3 separate regions of the Homo sapiens genome follow, and all the other regions are linked to region 3. Evidence: promoter capture Hi-C in human tissues and cell types (Jung and others, 2019). All regions are on one chromosome and are shown on one strand. Each heading gives the region's core, a stretch centred on a gene start or on the middle of the fragment in contact. The rest is flanking DNA. Distances are from core to core; before and after follow the strand shown. Region 1 overlaps NFIX (nuclear factor I X). Region 2 overlaps NFIX (nuclear factor I X). Region 3 holds the start of DNASE2 (deoxyribonuclease 2, lysosomal).

What was found. Contacts are between HindIII fragments. The study calls those that stand out against the background at their distance.
Region 1: a fragment that was not itself captured here is called in contact with the fragment with the promoter of DNASE2 in region 3 in 1 of the 25 tissues and cell types used here (lymphoblastoid cells).
Region 2: a contact is called between a fragment that was not itself captured here and the fragment with the promoter of DNASE2 in region 3, in 3 of the 25 tissues and cell types used here (dorsolateral prefrontal cortex, lymphoblastoid cells and spleen).

What each region holds. Positions count from the first base shown.
Region 1 is chr19:13,064,423-13,067,122 of GRCh38, reverse strand. All of the region lies in intron 2 of NFIX (nuclear factor I X), which reads right to left. Among named protein-coding and RNA genes, the nearest start is that of LYL1, 37 kb to the left of the region's middle. The HindIII fragment of the contact is 5,516 bases long and covers 1-2,700 here.
Region 2 is chr19:13,038,174-13,040,873 of GRCh38, reverse strand. All of the region lies in intron 2 of NFIX (nuclear factor I X), which reads right to left. Among named protein-coding and RNA genes, the nearest start is that of NFIX-AS1, 24 kb to the right of the region's middle. The HindIII fragment of the contact is 3,683 bases long and covers 1-2,700 here.
Region 3 is chr19:12,880,038-12,882,737 of GRCh38, reverse strand. It overlaps DNASE2 (deoxyribonuclease 2, lysosomal), which reads left to right and starts at 1,289. Exons shown (of 6, transcript NM_001375.3): 1 at 1,289-1,448; 2 at 1,586-1,766; 3 at 1,858-1,936. The coding sequence starts at 1,363. RefSeq lists cis regulatory regions at 1-167, 907-1,467 and enhancers at 1,362-1,471, 1,131-1,758. The HindIII fragment of the contact is 10,490 bases long and covers 1-2,423 here.

The DNA.
Region 1 (2,700 bases), core at 150-2,649, 180 kb before region 3:
CTGGAGCGTCCAGGGCACAGGAAACCCAATCTCAAGGGGAGCCAGAGGCCCTGCCTGTAGCAATCAGAGCTGGAGAATGTAACTATTGTGCCTCCTGAAACTGAAGTCTGAGAATCTGAGACACCCTGAGGAGGGGAACGGTGGATAGATGGGGGGCTAAGGGGACGGGTCACAGAGGGGTTCTCCCCGTCTCAGCAGACAGGAGACTCAGGGGACCAAGGAAGTCCTTGAGAATGCAGGGCAGCCAGAGGGCCGGGGGATGAGGCTTGGCCAGGGTCTGGGCCCACGGGGCTTCTAGGATCTTCCTCTCCTTCTCTCCATTCCTCACCCTGCTCCACCAGCCACCATGCATGTGCACACACACATGTGCACAAACACACACACACATGCACACACACATCCTGGAGTCATCCTGAGGTGGCAGGTTTTTCCCTCCTCTGTCATCCCTAGAGTCTCACATGGTTTAAAGCCGGAGCCTGAACAAGAAGCAGAGCCCGCAAGCTGTGGGTGGGGGCAGGGATAAGGACAGGGGAACATGTCACCCCATTATCGTCCTCTCCCCTTTCCTCATTCCCTCCCTGCTCACAGATCCAAAGGGGCTTCTGCCTTTGACTTGACTGACCTGCTGGAGATGGGGGAAGAGGACATGGCAGAGGGGATAAGTGACAGGAAAGAGGAAGAAACCGAGTGACACCCACATGTGGTCTAGGCCTGCTCTGGCTGCCCCTAGGGCCTAGGCTCAAGAAAAGCCATTGTTGGGGGCGGGGGGGTAGGGAAGGCACAGGAACCTGGCAGATGAAGGGCCAGCATCTGGATGGGACATTCCCCTCTCCATCCCCTGACCCCAGGAAGAACTACTTTCTCCATTCCAACACATCCCGGCCTCTACGGGTGCCCCTGGAGCAAGTGCCAGGCCTGGCTACTACAGGACTCACAGCTCGGCAGTAAGGCTTCGGGAAGCGAGGAGAAAGCAAGTCCATCAGCTCATCTTGTACCCAGGAGACCAGCAGAGCAGTCTCACACTTCATCTGAAAGCCTCAGGCCCCACACGGTGTCGAGGTGAAGAAGGCCTGTCTCCTACAGTCCTTGGTTGCCTCCACTCCCCATGTGGAGATAGACTCATAGCCAGAAGCCTTCCAGCCACACAGCCCATCACTGCCTCCCTCATATAATGAGAAAGGTGTTCCTAAGCTTAAAATTTTCCTCCAGGAAAACAATAGAACTCCCACCTCCCTTCCATCCCCAGCAAGTGGCCCCGGAGCCCTCCAGGGAGTTCTTCTGGTGTGAGCTACTCAGCGTTCTCTGCTTGGCTCCCGTTCATTAGCAGCCGTCCCCAGCCCAGGGAGAACTCCTTTAGATGGGCCCAGGCATGGAGCGGCAGAAGAAGCCAGGAGGCACTGGGGAACTGAATGCTCAGTTGCTCTTCCCCAAGGGATGACAGGCAGTGGCCAGCAAAGGAGAGAGAGAAGGGATATGCCCCTGGTGCACAACAGAGCACCCAGCAGGTGGACAAAGGCCCACCTGCCAATGGCCACTCCAGGATCAGCCCAACAGTTAATAAATGAGACCCCCAGCCACAGCAGCAATGGGACATGCGAGTGGGCCTGCAGGCTCCTCCTGTGTCTGCCCATGGCAAGGTGACCCAGCACCAAACCTAGCACCTCAGATACCTGACTATGGAGGGAACAAGTGGACCCAGGGCATGGCAGCAGCACTGTCTGGGGTGTTTCAGAGATACCTGGGGTAGGAATTCCCATCAGAGCAGAAGAGATTGAAGATGACAGGCAAAGATCAGGCAAGGAAGAAGGCAAAGAAAAACATCTTGGGCAGGAGCCATTGGCCTGGGTCTGCTTCCCCTGTCCTCTGAGCCTGCCCTTGGCCTACCCAGGGAGGTGCCCTTGGTCTGGAGCCTGTGTCCACTGAGGGGGTACAACACAGTGCTCTACCACTGTGGATACCCTATCCTGGGTGAGCTGGCCTTGCCCCAGCACAGAGGGGCCGAAGGGGGCATGCTGAAATGGAGGGTAGGAGGAGGAAGGAGGTGGGTGGCCAGCAACGGCATACCAAGGCTCCCCCAATTCACATCCGTGCTCCAGAACCTACCAGCCTGTGACTTTGGTCAAGTTATGAACTGTTTCCTCATCTGTAAAAGGGAGATAACACCTACCATTAGCATTCCTGGGTAAGGAATAAATGAGAAAACATGTATAATAAGGTGCTTAGCTCAGGGCCTGGCTCATAGTTGGGGCTACATAAATGTCGCCTGTCCTTCCACCTGGATTACTATTTCCCTTCATCTCCATTTGCTGAATGCTTATTCCTCCTTCTCAACTCTGTTCAAATGCCACCTCCCACCCTGGTGGGGGAAGCTGTGGCTGACCCTCAGCTCCCCTCCCCAGGAGCTCACGCTCTTGAGTACATGGTGAGTGTGTCCTAGATTGCAGTTTTTGGTGTCTTGACCCAGGGACCACTGCCAGTGAACAGAGGGGCTCCCTTGGGGCCTGGCCCACTACCATCTACAAAGAGCAACAGAGAGGTTTCTCTGCAAATATAATGGCAGAGCCTGGGCAGACACCTGTACAGGCATATCCCTCCCCACATCGGTGTGCAATAGCCATCCAACGGTCTCAAGACAGTCACCATACTAGAAACAGGGGTGGGGGAGAGAGGGCCAACAGGGAAAAGGGAGGATAGAGCTTG
Region 2 (2,700 bases), core at 47-2,546, 160 kb before region 3:
CAAAAACTACTGGAAACAGTTCTAAGATCCGAGGCAAGCAAAGGTACAGCAGCGGCAGCAGAATCAACTTTAAGATCTGCTTCGAGAAGTGGCTGTGTGTGTGCGCGAGTGTGTGAAAGACAAACCTCCCTCCCTATTCACATTCCTTTAATAATTCATTGTTAATAACCAAACCCAGCTACCAGAGCCGCAAGCACATGTACCAGCTGGAGGACGGCAGTCATCTCTGACCCGAGAGGCCCAGACTGAAGGGGTCTCCAGGAGATGGAGGGCAGGAATAGCAGCCATGAGTCTGTCCATACAAGGAGCCTGGAGGCCAGGGCTCCTGAGGAGAGGGAGGGAGGCGAGGAAAAGCCTCAGAGCAAAAGGCAAGCAATCCCAGTGGGCCCAGGACTGATCCCTGCCAATCCCTGCCGCAGGGCATCCACCAGGCTAGCGTGGCAGGGAAGATCTGGCACGGGAAGAGACCCTGTCACGAGTGAGTTTGGCTGCTCCGCAGACCAAGTCTGGAGAGGACATGGCCTCTGGGGGGCTGTGTGCTTTGTGGCCAAAAGGGAGGATGTCCCCAAAGATGACTATTTAGCAGGGACAGCCAAGGAGACCAAGAAAAGGCCTATGAGAGGGTGGGGTGGGCTGAGCCCACCAAGCAGTAGCCCCTGTAACAAGGTACTCAGCGGGGGCAGGGGTGAAGGAAGGGGCTGAGAAGAAGGCTGCTCCTTCCCCATTTTCCTGAGAGCTCATTCACATAAAATAAAAACAAGTATTTTGAAAAACCAAGTCTCTTTGAACCCATTAACCCACAGCTTCTCACTTGCCTGCCACACTCCTTCCAGCATTCTGGAAGCTTCCACTGCCCCTCCTCTGTCAGGATTCTCCCCTCATAATGCCCACTCAGAGAGCACACCTGCCACTTTCCCATCTTGGCTCTCTTCCTTCATCAGCCCCCTTTCTGATTTTTATACCATCGTGAGCCTTTACATCATCTCAAGGATGGGCCATGGGCTGCTTCCCATCTGAAGGTAATTCAATATTCAAAATGGGTTTATGGAGCGTATAAAACTATAAGCTGCGCGAGAGACAGATGCAAAGGCGGATAAAACACAGTCCCAGCTCCAAGATTCCAGCCTAAGAGAAACTAAAAACTGCATGCTAAGTATCACAACGGAGCAAAATAAACTGGCCCCCAGCTGAGCCCAGGGCCAACTTGCATAGAAACGGGGCCTCGCCCAGCAGATTGCTCCCCTCTGCAGCAGACTCTCCAAGGTCCCTGTTTTCGTGACAAGACATGTAAAGGCAAGACTTGCCACCATGGGGATGCACTGCCTCTCCCAGGGTGCAGTGAGGAGGCCAACACATGCCTTCTGCCCCATTCACAGGCAAGGTAGCAGAGCTCAGGCTCACCAGGGGCATTTCTGCAGCCGGAGCACTTTGTTGAAGAGGAACACAATTCAAGAGGCCTTGCCAAGCCAGGCTGGCATCTGAGTAATTATATTAATGAATCTCTGAGTTACAAAATCTAATATTAGACAGTGGCTTCAGTACCATCATCCTCAGTTACTGTCCCACGTGGCTGGGAACACTCCTGGGCAGCAGCAGGGCTTGAACAGACCCTACACACACACACACACGTGTATGTGTGTGTGTGGGGGGGGGTGTTTAATTTAAAAGAAATGCATGTATTTGAAACTATGCCCAGAGATTTGTGTGCTGGGCCCACTTTGTAAACCACGATACCATAAATAAGTGAGAGAAATCTGGCCATTGTCCTCAGGGCAGAGGCCTCTCTCTTGGCCATATCTTTTGGGCTGGCAATATCCTGAGGATTATTGCTCCATGGAGCAATGGCCTTTGTGTTCGGAGCCAGCACTGTTCCCCACAGAGTCCCCTTTGGCACAGCAGGCAGGACCTTGCATGTAGACCCTTGGGCCCTTCCTCCCCATCCACGCTTATTAGCTGCCTCAATCTCAAGTCCAAACTCAAAAGTTGGGCCTGACACACACAACGGGTAGCCCACAGCCCAGCTGATCCCCTCTCTCTGGCCAAATCTCTGGTGCAGACCAGACCACTGCGCCACCACCACCATCCTGGCCTTCATCTGTGGGCCCTGTCCGAGGCCAGCAGAAACGATGACCCAGTTGGCCACGCTATGCATGTGGTCAAGGCCAGAGGGCGCCAAGTCAACTGCAGCCAGGTAGTAAACTAAACAGGCACTAAAGGCAGGTGAAAAACAGTGTCTGCTATGCTTTCATGATTACATTTCACATATGCCGGGCTAAACGGAAACTTCTATAAATGACATGAGAACACTTAGAACCTAGATTTCTGTAAACTCCATGTGCCAGAATAGGATTTGGCTCTCTCCTGCTCCTGCCTCATTTGTTTCATTTGGGAAGCTTCTTTGGGTGGCAGAGTCCAGCCCTGGTCACTGGGTCTGGGAAACTGGCTTTTATGGAAGTGAGTTCTCACCCTGGGACTGCTACGCTCAGGAAGCCCCAGGAGCCGCAGTGGCCTGTTCAGGTCTATATGGGAAGAGGTGACCTGAAAGGCAGGGAAAACAGGCAGGCTTTGCCTTTTAGAAACTCTTTGGTAGGCAATAAGGGATAGGTATTTGATGATTTTTCCATTCTTTTTTAAATAACAGATGAAGGATCCACACCAATACCATACTGCCTGGCAGGGCTTGCTGTCAGCACTGTCTCA
Region 3 (2,700 bases), core at 40-2,539:
CACTTGAACCCCGGAGTTCCAGAGCAGCCTGGGCAACATAGTGAGACCCTCATCTCTGCAATGAACAATTATCTGGGTGTGGTGGCACAGGCCTGTAGTACCAGCTACCTGGGAAGATCTCTTGAGCCCAGTAGGTTGAGGCTGCAGTGAACTGTGATGGAGTCACTGCATTCTAGCCTGGGTGAGAAACCATTATCCTGTCTCAAAACGACAAAAAACAAACATACAGTCACCTCTTTGCTAGCTCAGGGGATCCTGGAGAAAACGTGCAGAATGAAAAAGGAGAGTCTGGGTGGCGTGGATTACATGCCTGTAATCCCAGCACTTTGGGAGGCAAGACAGGTGGATCCCTTGAGCTCAGGAGTTCAGCCTGAGCCACATGGTGAAACCGTGTTTCAAAAAAAAAACTACAAAAATTAGCTGGGCATAGTGGCATGTGCCCGTGATCCCAGCTACTCGGGAGGCTGAGGTGAGAGGATCACTTGAGCTGGGGAGGCAGAGGTTGCAGTGAGCCAAGATTGCGCCACTGCACTCCGGCCTGGGCAACAGAGCGAGATATTGTCCGGGAAAAAAAAAAAAAAAAAAGGAAGGAAAAAAAAAAAGAAAGAAAAAGGGGAAGATACACTGGAACACAAATGCTTCTTAAGGGGCGCAGTGGCTCACTTCTGCAATCTTGGCACTTTCGGGGGCCGAGGCTGGTGGATCACGAGGTCAGGAGTTCGAGACCAGCCTAGTCAACATGGAAAAACCCCGTCTCTACTAAAACTACAAAAATTAGCCGGGCGTGGTGTCGGGCGCCTGTAATCCCAGCTACTCGGGAGGCTGAGGCAGGATAATCGCTTTAATCAGGAAGGCGGAGGTTGCAGTGAACCGAGATCGTGCCATTGCACTCCAGCCTGGGCGACAAGAGTGAAACTCCGTCTCAAAAAAAAAAAAAAAAAAAAAAAAAAAAAAAGAGGAAGAACAAAGGTCCCAAGAGTTGGACCCAGGTTGTAGGGCTGGAATAAAAAATAAAATACAAACTTGTGCCTGATCCAGAAACCCGGGCGGGAGTTGGGTCAGACAGAAGAGCGTGGGCTGGGATTAGCTACCACGAAAAGGAACGGTGGCCAGGCTCCAGGAGACGCTGGAGCGCCGGGCCCGTCGTGGGCGTGGTCTGGGCAGACTCAGCGTTGCCTTTTGCCTCTCCAAAACGCAGCATCGCGTCTCGGGGGAGGAGTCTGTACCCTCGTGATGTCCCCGCCCCGGTTCCCAGGCAAGTTTAGGGAAGTGAAAGGCGCCAGGTGCCAGTCCTGGCCTCTGATGTAACCCAGCGCCCCGCAGTCCCGACACAGATTCCTGGATCTCAGCCCCATAGCAGCTATGATCCCGCTGCTGCTGGCAGCGCTGCTGTGCGTCCCCGCCGGGGCCCTGACCTGCTACGGGGACTCCGGGCAGCCTGTAGACTGGTGAGTGCGCAGCGGGGGGCCTACCATCGCCCCGGGGTCCGGCTGCGGTCACTCAACCGGGATGGCTACCTCCTCGGGGAACCCTGGGGTGCCTTCTCTTCCCTCTCTCCTATTTCTGTGCATTCTCCGACCTCCAGGTTCGTGGTCTACAAGCTGCCAGCTCTTAGAGGGTCCGGGGAGGCGGCGCAGAGAGGGCTGCAGTACAAGTATCTGGACGAGAGCTCCGGAGGCTGGCGGGACGGCAGGGCACTCATCAACAGCCCGGAGGGGGCCGTGGGCCGAAGCCTGCAGCCGCTGTACCGGAGCAACACCAGCCAGGTGAAGGGGGCCCCGGGCCAACTAGGGGCGAAACTCTAGGGCTGCCCTGCCTGGGAGGAATTTCACGTTGCCTCCGTTTATCCGCCCGCAGCTCGCCTTCCTGCTCTACAATGACCAACCGCCTCAACCCAGCAAGGCTCAGGACTCTTCCATGCGTGGGCACACGAAGGGTGAGGCCTGGATTGGGGGCTGGGGAGAGACTCGGGTCCCATTTTTCCAAGGTAACCCCTGACGTGCATGGGGTGGTCGGGGAGATCTGCACTGTCAGACCCTGGGCATCTATTCCCCCCAACTTTTTTTTTTCTTTGTTTTTGAGACGGTGGGAGTTCGCTCTGTCACCCAAGCTGGAGTGCAGTGGCACAATCTTGGCTCACTGCAATCTCTGCCTCTGGGGTTGAAGCAATTCTCCTGTCTCAGCCTCCCAAGTAGCTGGTATTAAAGGCGCACCATCACACCAGGCTAATTTTCATATTTTTAGTACAGACGAGGTTTCACCATGTTGGCCAGGCTGGTCTCGAACTCCTGGTTTCTACCTCAAGTGATCTACCCGCCTTGGCCTCCCAAAGTGCTGGGATTACAGGAATGAGCCACCCTGCCCAGCCGAGTTCCTATGCATTTTTCCAAGCTAACCCCTGACCTCCATAGTGGGGTGGGAGATCTCCCCTGTCAGACCTTGGGCATCTATTTCCCCTATTTTATTTTCTTTTAGACAAGGTCTCACCCAGTCACCTAGGCTGGAGTGCAGTATCACAGCTCACTGCAGCCTTGACCTCCCAGGGCTCAGGTGATCCTCCTACCTCAGCCTCCCAAGTACTGGGCCTGCCGGTACCCCCCACCACGCCTGGCTTTTTTTTTTTTTTTTTTTTTTTGCGGCACTCTCTCTCCATCACCCAGGCTGGAGTTCGGTGGTGCAATCTCAGCTCACTGCAATCTC